Regions from separate parts of the Homo sapiens genome. Here region 2 is linked to region 1. The links are contacts of gene promoters, found by promoter capture Hi-C in blood cells and fetal thymus (Javierre and others, 2016). All regions are on one chromosome and are shown on one strand. Each heading gives the region's core, a stretch centred on a gene start or on the middle of the fragment in contact. The rest is flanking DNA. Distances are from core to core; before and after follow the strand shown.

What was found. The method cuts DNA at HindIII sites, captures the fragments that hold promoters and counts their contacts. A CHiCAGO score of 5 or more calls a contact.
Region 2: a fragment that was not itself captured here is called in contact with the fragment with the promoter of FAM78B in region 1 in 1 of 17 cell types (megakaryocytes); the score reaches 5.3 in megakaryocytes.

What each region holds. Positions count from the first base shown.
Region 1 is chr1:166,164,294-166,168,352 of GRCh38, reverse strand. FAM78B (family with sequence similarity 78 member B) reads left to right here and starts at 1,352. Exons shown (of 2, transcript NM_001017961.5): 1 at 1,352-2,367. The coding sequence starts at 2,105. It overlaps LOC112268276 (a long non-coding RNA gene), which reads right to left and starts at 2,476. Exons shown (of 3, transcript XR_002958633.2): 1 at 2,299-2,476. RefSeq lists silencers at 1,112-1,601, 1,642-1,701 and enhancers at 2,092-2,141, 2,242-2,411, 1,583-2,485. The HindIII fragment of the contact is 5,998 bases long and covers 1-3,772 here.
Region 2 is chr1:165,923,856-165,928,427 of GRCh38, reverse strand. No RefSeq gene overlaps it. Among named protein-coding and RNA genes, the nearest start is that of MIR3658, 18 kb to the right of the region's middle. RefSeq lists a silencer at 46-155. The HindIII fragment of the contact is 1,953 bases long and covers 632-2,584 here.

The DNA of each region.
Region 1 (4,059 bases), core at 103-2,602:
TCTCTATGCATTTTGCATTTGCCAAATGCTGGTCCTGTACTACTCATTCACCTTTCTCTTTTCAGTGAGACTCTACAGTCTGTCAGTATTCAATTTAAATGTCACTACTTGAGCAAAGTCACACGTAAATCTCTCAGTGGCCAGAGAGCCACTGAGTGGCTCTCTGACCACTGAGGGATTTACATGTGGCCAGAGATTTACATGTCTGGCCTTCCACGGCACTGGATACACAACCCCACTAAAGCAGGTGTCACAGTTTACTATAATAACTTGTTAACAGGTTTATTTTCTCCAGTGATCCATGTGCTCTTTTTCAACTTTGAATCCCTAGTACCTAGCACTATGTTTGGCTCCTGCCAGGCAGGCAGTCAGCCTTTGCTGAATGAAAGGACCAGTGATTGAGGTCTGTGGCTACACGGTAAAATGAGAGAGACGAGTCATCAAAGGGAAAAACTGCTTTTTTGTTAACTATAAAGTGAACCAAGGTGTCAGAACAGTTAAAACAAGGATGAAGAGTGCTTTTAGATCTCAATCAATTTTTAAATTACTCGTCACACCTGTCCTAGCTAAAGACTAACTCTAGCACCTCCTGCGGCCTGTTAGTCAGTATTTCACACTTGGGCAGCAGATCCAGCAAATGTTCAATGATCGCAGAAGAAATACTTAGAAGCTATTGGCTTTGAAAATAAAAATGTAAGAAGATGCCTAGTAAAAGCATCTGCTAAATATTCTTCCTGTTTGGCACATTAGACTGCAGTATCAGACACATGACCGTGGTCATACTGTACACAATGCCCAATGTCTGCCAAAACTCTGGCATATGAGAGACTTAGTGCTGGAGTACGGAGGGATTCTTCCGGTATCCCCACTACACACAGTGGTGGAAAGAAGAGCTTCCAGAACAAACCCAGTCAGGCAAAGAGGCAAATACACTGCATTTAGTAACGCTGCTGGAGCCCGCCCTTCACCCTTTCTGAAGGTAGGATACTAAAAGGGCTCAAGCCTAAATCTAATCCAACAAGCTATATTCTGAATAACGACCAATCTCTGATAAAGCTGTTCCCCTAACCCTTCTGCTGCCCGAAACACTCACTCTACAGCCCCTACTGGGCTACCGGGTTCCCCACTGGACTCTGGACAGCGCCGCGCCCTGCTCGGCCTCACCCACCCGGTGGCGCTTGGGCCCGCCCTAGTCCCCCACCCCCACCCCAGGGCACCACCTACCAGGGCCCCGCCCCGCCTCAGCCCCACGTGCGGGGCCCCACCCCGGCGCTAGCGGCCCTTTAAACACCCCCACCCTTACACATTACCCCCCCCCCACCCGGACGGCAGCCGAATAGGGACAAAACTCATGGCGTACAGCCAGTTTCCTCCGCGGAGCACGTCCTGTGCTGCTCCAGCCGTTGGGGCTCTCCACCCCGGGCCACAGCCTCCTGGCGCCCCCCGGGCCGAGGCAGCCGGGCCGAGGAGTGTCGGTGTGGTCCGGCTACGGGGCGGGGCCGGCGGGAGCTCCGGTCGCCGCCGCCGCCGCTGCTGCCTCCGCCTGCCTCTTGGGCCGCCCGCTCGCCCGCCGCTGGGTGCGCTGCACGCGGGGGGCAGCCGTGGTGCAGAGGTTCATGCAGCGGCGGCGGCGGCGGCGGCTGCTGCTGCTGCCGCCGCGGAGGCAGACAGACCGGGCGCTGCCACCGCCGCCCTCCCCCGGCTCCATGCCGCCGCCGCTGCCGCCTCCTCCTCTCCGGCGAGGGGCGGGGGGCTCCGGCCCGGGGTGGGCACCATTCCTCGCAGCGCCGCTCCCCTCCCTGCCCTCCGCCCGGGCGCTGGAGCCGGCGAGGGCACCCGCCGCCTCCTAGGAGTGCACCCTCCGCGCGCCCTGCCGGAGCGAGGGGGCGGGCGTGGGCGGACGTCGGGGCAGCGGGGACCCCGCGCGGCTGCAAGAGGAGGGGGCTTCCCCAAGGATGCCCGGCGGCTCCCCGCTCCTAGGTGCGAGCTGAGTCTGACCGGGAGCGAGCGGCGCGTCGCCATGCCGGCGTGACGGGCGCCCCCGGCTGCCCGCGCGGGCCCCCGCGCTGCCCCACGCCGCGCCGTGCCGGCACCGGGCTGCAGGATGGGCTGTATCCAAAGCATCACCTGCAAGGCGCGGATCCGGCGCGAGAACATCGTGGTGTACGATGTGTGCGCCACCATCGACCAGTGCCCCACGCGCATCGAGGAGACCTCGCCCATCGTCCTGCGCTACAAGACCCCCTACTTCAAAGCCTCCGCCCGCGTGGTCATGCCCCCCATCCCCCGCCACGAGACCTGGGTGGTGGGCTGGATTCAGGCGTGCAATCAGATGGAGTTCTTCAACACCTACAGCGACCTGGGCATGTAAGCGACTCGCCGCGCGGCACGGGAGCGGACTCTGGGCCCCCAGCTCTGCTTGCCACCTTGACCCCCCTCCCCAGCTCCTTCCTACTGCTGTCCCCATCGTCTTTCTAAACCTTCCTCCCGCCTCCTCTCCCACCTCCCTCCTCCCTACGCTTTTGTTTCAGTGACAGGGCGGGTGTAGGGAGGCTCCTTGCGAAGGCATTTTCTCGTGGTTTGCTTCTGACTTCCCAGAAACGCGAGGAGAAAGGTGCGGGGCGGGAAGAACGCGACAAGGAGGGTTCGAGAGGCGGAGGTGGGGATGGCTGGCGAGTGCCTGGCGAGTTTCAGGGCGCCGTCTGTGCTTTGTGGGGCTCCCCGGGAAGAGTTTGGGGGAAACCATAGAGGAGTGGAGTGGAGTGCCGGGGGCGCATGGGCTGTGCCGCGCGTCCTTTGGAGAAACCGGAGCGGGCTTGGAAGAGCAGGTCCCGGGCATCCGAGCGGGAGTTGGTAGTTCTGTCCTTGCCCTCGCGACTGTTGAAGTTTCGAACCCTTGTCCCCCGGGCCAGGGAGCCCGGAGGCGTTTCCGTCTGGAACCACAAGCCGGACACAGTTGCCTCTCTGTTTCCGCGCCCCCTGGACCAGTTCTGGTGGGGAGCTGGAAGGCACCGAGTGCGTCCCGGCCAAGAAGGGCGGATAGCCTTGTGCGAGCAGCGTTCGGCTGGCGCGGCGCGGGGTGTTTCTTATGCTAAAGGAAAGGATGGATCTCTTGTCTGTCTAGGGTCCTTACTTTTTAAAACTTTCCTAATTGCGGCACTGGAAGGGATTCCCCTGGCGCCCACCGCCGAATTCTATCGGCGAGCTGGGAGCTCTCCAACTTTCAGCAGCGCCGGTTGGTGCGCGCCGGGCTTGGCTGCTGCGGTGAAGACCAAGGATCGCCGCGGCTCCTCAACCGCCAGGGGCCGCAGGCTACGGGCGGTCGCGTCCGGGACTTTTATATTTACCAAATTTTCATAACTCCGCACCCGCCTCCTTTCAGAACTAGACTCTGAGCAGGTGGCAACGACAATAGCTAAAAGGTTTAGGGCCTGCCTTCTACCTGCTGTTACAATGTAGGTCTAGAACACCCTAATTAGCCAGTCTGCAGCCTACAGGGAAACCCTTTTTCTGGAAATTCAACCTCATTTCACTTATTAATCTAAAACTCTAGAGCTCCCAAGGTTCGTCTATTTAATATGGATATGGGGTGGGGGAGTTCCCATTTTAAAAGGTCAAACCATCTTTTTAGCAGCAGTTTGCAGGCTTTTTATTGCACTCTGAGAGCATGTCAGTTAACACTAGTCATAGGCGCTAAAAGAAATTTGACAGGTCGTTGTTTTCCTTTTTTCCTCCCAAAGATTTTGCACTTTTCTCTTTAAGCACAAAAGCTTAATCCTTGAGAAAACTCAATTCCTAGTGAAGAAATGTGAGGCCCAGTTTCCAATATGCCTCAGCACACTGTATTCTTCCAGAGAAGACAGCTAGATGTGAGAAATGGGGGATATTTTATTTGGGGCGAATCATGCCATTTAAAAACTGACATACCCTCAAAAGAATGATTATATGTGAACACATGTGTCTCTTAAAACTGCTTTTTAAAATAAATCCATTGTTTCCAGCCAAGTCAGAGAAAGCCACAGGCAGGGCAAGAGCCCTTCCTCTCATTTCCCTGGCCTC
Region 2 (4,572 bases), core at 359-2,858, 240 kb after region 1:
GGAAAGAGGGGTAATTCAATCTACCTCACAGGATTCAAATGAGGTTTAAAACAAAACAATGCATTTCAGTGACAGGCATACAGTAGAGGCTAACTAGATAAATGGTTGATGAACGAAATGAATGCGAGAAATTACAATTGCGCCCCCTGGTGAGGTTTTGAAGCCTAGCACATTGGAGAATGACAAGCACATGGGAGATAGTGTCATTACAGGATGTGTCAATGTGTCATGGCCAATACTTACACACACACACACACACACACACACACACAGTCTACCTCTGCCAGATTCTCCTTGCTGCTACAGCAGCAAATAGAAATGACCATGTATTAGTCCTTTCTCCTTATTCTCACACATACACAAATGCAACCAAGAGAAAAATCTCCACATCTAAGTGTGTCCAAAAGTCATATCCAAGTTCTGTATTATCAAATATCTATTAGCAAACTCAACAAAAATAAACGATGGAGAAAAGATTCCCTATTCAATAAATGGTGCCGGGATGACTGGCTATACATAGGTAAAAGAATAAAACTGGACTCCTACCTATCACCACATACAAACAATAACTCAAGACGGATTAACGACTTAAATGTAAGACCTCAAGCTATAAGAATCCTAAAAGAAAGCTTAGGAAATACCCTTCTCAATATTGGCCTTGGCAAAGAATTTATGACTAAGTCCTCAAATGCAACTGCAACAAAAACAAAAATTGACAAGTGGGACCTAATTAAACTAAAGAGCTTCTGCACAGCAAGAGAAACCATCGAGGAAGTAAAGAGACAACCTACAGAATGGAAGAAAATATTCACAAACTATGCATCTAACAAATGTCTAAGACCCAAAATCGATATAAAAACTTAAATCAATAAGCAAAAAGCAAATAACCTCATTAAAAGTTGACAAAAGACATGGACAAACACTTCTAAAACGAAGACATACAACCAGCCAACAAACATATGACAAAATGCTCAACAACACTAATCATCAGAGAAATGCAAATCAAAACCACAATGAGATACCATCTCTCGCCTGTCAGAGTGACTTTTGTTAAAAAGTCAAAAAATAACAGGTGCTAGCAAGGCTATGGAGAAAAGGGAACACATATGCTGTTGGCAAGAATGCAAATTAGTCTAGCCACTGTAGAGAGCAGTTTGTAGATTTCTCAAAGAAGTTAGGCTGAACTACTATTTGTCCCAGCAATCCCATTACCAGATATATGCCCAAAGGAAAATAAATCATTCTACCAAAAGGATACATGCACCCATATGTTCACTGCAGCACTATTCACAATAGCAAAAACATGGAATCAACCCAGGTGCCCAACAACAGTGGACTGGATAAAGAAAATGTGGTATATATTCGCCATGGAATACTACACAGCCATAAAAAAGAACAAAATCAGCTGGGCGCGGTGGCTCCTGCCTGTAATCCCGCACTTTGGGAGGCCGAGGCAGGCGGATCACGAGGTCAGGAGATCGAGACCATCCTGGCTAACACGGTGAAACCCCATCTCTACTAAAAATACAAAAAATTAGCCAGGTGTGGTGGCGGGCGCCTGTAGTCCCAGCTACTCGGGAGGCTGAGGCAGGAGAATGGTGTGAACCTGGGAGGCGGAGCTTGCAGTGAGCCGAGATTGCACCACTGCACTCCAGCCTGGGGGACAGAGCGACACTCCGTCTCAAAAAAAAAAAAAAAAAAATCATGTCCTTTGCATCAACATAGATGCAGCTAGAGGCCATTATCCTAAGTGAAGTAACACAGAAACAGAAAACCAAATACCACATGTTCTCACTTATAAGTGGGAGCTAAACATTGCATATACATGGACATAAAAATGCCAACAACAGACACTGGGGAATATTAGAGGAGGGACTGAGGGAGGGGCGCAGGGGCTGAAAAACTACACATTGGGTACTATGGTCTCTACCTGGGTGATGGATTCAGTCATACCCCAAACCTCAGCATCACACAATATACCTTTGTAACAAACCTGCACAGGTACCCCCAATTCTAAAATAAAGGCTGAAACAGAAAAAAAAAAATATCTATTAGCAAACCAGATGGTGCTGTTGGTGCTGTTGTTGACTGCATGATCAAATAAATCTCTAACATAAAACAGCAGAGAACAGGTTAAAACCCCCTCAGAGGAAATGCTATTCTAAAAATAGTCTCTCTTTGGTCCCCATTCCCACCCCAGCAGCCCCCTGACACATGCACATACACACACACACCAATGTGTGTGCATGGAAAGCTCACCTTAACTGAAGTTTTAAAAACACCAGTTTGATCAAATCAATAAAGACATTTTTAAAATAGACTCTGAAAGAAAATGGCCCTAAGGATCTCGCTGGGGTGTTCTTTGGCGCAGCAGGCGATAAGCATGGTGACTGACATTTCCAGTCTTTCCTCCTCCCCTCTCATGCCACCAATCATGAACAGGCACTTTAAGTCTCCCATCACCTTGAGAAGGGGTCAGTCTCCTTTCCTCAAGCATGAGAGAAGATGGCAAAGCTCTCTCTACCATTCAGTTCCTTTATTGGTCCTGAAAAGTGAGTGACAGTGGCTTTTCTTCTCGGAAGCTTATCTCAGGGGTTAGAGCAGCATCATACCACACCCATTCTTAATCTCCTCTTCCTCAGGGTCCCTGCCCGGAAAAGGAAAGTGCCCCTCTCCACAGTCTGGAGCATAACCCTCCCACAGGGCCACCCTTCTTGGATGCCAGGCTGACACCTCCCCAGAGAGTGTCAGAGCACAATGTTCAGCCCAACACTTTAATGACACTGCTGTTTCCTGGCTCTCAGATTTGTCCGAAACTGCCTGGTATACCTCGGCTTACTGTGGGTCTCCTCTTCTGGAAGAGTGTACATTCTAGTTAATTCAGTAAATGCCCATGGTGCACCCAAACTTCCTAGACTCTGAGGGCATTTTAGGGAAATTTATATTAACAATTATTTTAAAGCTTCATAAATATATGGCACTTATGAATTTTCAAAAGTACTTTGATCTTCATTACTTTGCTTAAATCTGACACAATCCTATGAGGTAGAAAGGACTTGATATTATCATCCCTAAATAAAGAGATTAAAGATTAGAGAGTGGTTAGTCCAGGGTTATGCAAATAGTCTACTGCAAAGCCTGGGTGGTCTCTGGCAGGCAACAGTAAAGCCATATGCACATGAAACAGGTGTATGAAGAGGTGGGTGAGACTGAGACTGAGAGGGTGGATGGTGCAGGTCCTGTAAGTTTCCTTCTCACAGACTGACCAATCTGAGTTCTACAGGAAAGCCACCCACAGTTCCTCCTTGTTGAGACCCCCTAGATCTAGGAGTTGGGATTGTACCTCTTTGTGCACATTCCATTCTGCCTTGTACAAGAGTTGTGTCTATATGTGAGGGGCCACTGGCCATTTATGAGGTCCTGGAAGGCAGGGAGGGCTTGGCACAGTACCTGGCACATGATAGGTGCTCTCTAGTGTGTTTGAATTGACCGTCCTCCAGCTGTTCTGAAGGTTAAAACAGGACTTTGCTGTGCTGTGGCTCATTCTCACCCTCTAGTGGCCACTTTTAAGAATAACGGACCACAGATGGAGCTGAGCTTCCAAAGCCAATCAGGAGGCACTGCCATGCCTAGGCCACAGTCCACCTTCTGGTCAGGAGAAACTCAGTTATCAATGGAACTCTTTAAAAATACATGTGCATCTCGGGCCGGGCGCGGCGGCTCACGCCTGTAATCCCAGCACTTTGGGAGGCCGAGGCGAGTGGATCACGAGGTCAAGAGATCGAGACCATCCTGGCGAACATGGTGAAACCCCGTCTCAACTAAAAATACAAAAATTAGCTGGGCGTGGTGGTGCGCGCCTGTAATCCCAGCTACTCGGGAGGCTGAGGCACGAGAATCGCTTGAACCCGGGAGGCGGAGCTTGCAGCGAGCCGAGATTGCACCACTGCACTCCAGCCTGGCGGCAGAGCGAGACTGCATCTCAAAAAAAAAAAAAAACAAAACAAAAAAACGTGTGCATCTCTGCTAGCGAGGCGTCTGGCTCTAAAGCAAAAGTCAAATAAGGAAATCAGCCAACTGTTTATCAGGCACTGACTACGTGGCAAGTACCCTGCCAGGACACATGAGATACAGGAAACACAGTTGCTGACCGTAAAGGAGCCCACAATTTAATGTGAAGTAACACTCCACCGCCCAGGCATCCCAGCATGCTTCACATACAAAGAACAATGGAAGTTTTAGAACTCCAAGCAACATTTGATGCTGTGAACAAAGCAGAATTTCTCTGGAGGAGAAAGTTTGAAAAAACCAATGAGACACTTTTTTTTTTTTCATTATCATGGTTCAGATAACCAGAAAACCTTCCTGCTACAAAATACCTACAAGTTCCACATAAAATACAAAAAAGATAATAATAATGAAGTCCTGCTTAATGCATAGCTGAGCATATAAGAAAATGACATTAGACAAGGGCCAAGAATAGCAATTTAAAACATTAGTATAAAACACAATCAAAAATCAACAAGCAGATTTGGACTATAATGAAATGGTTTTTCTAAAAGCCAAAAATAT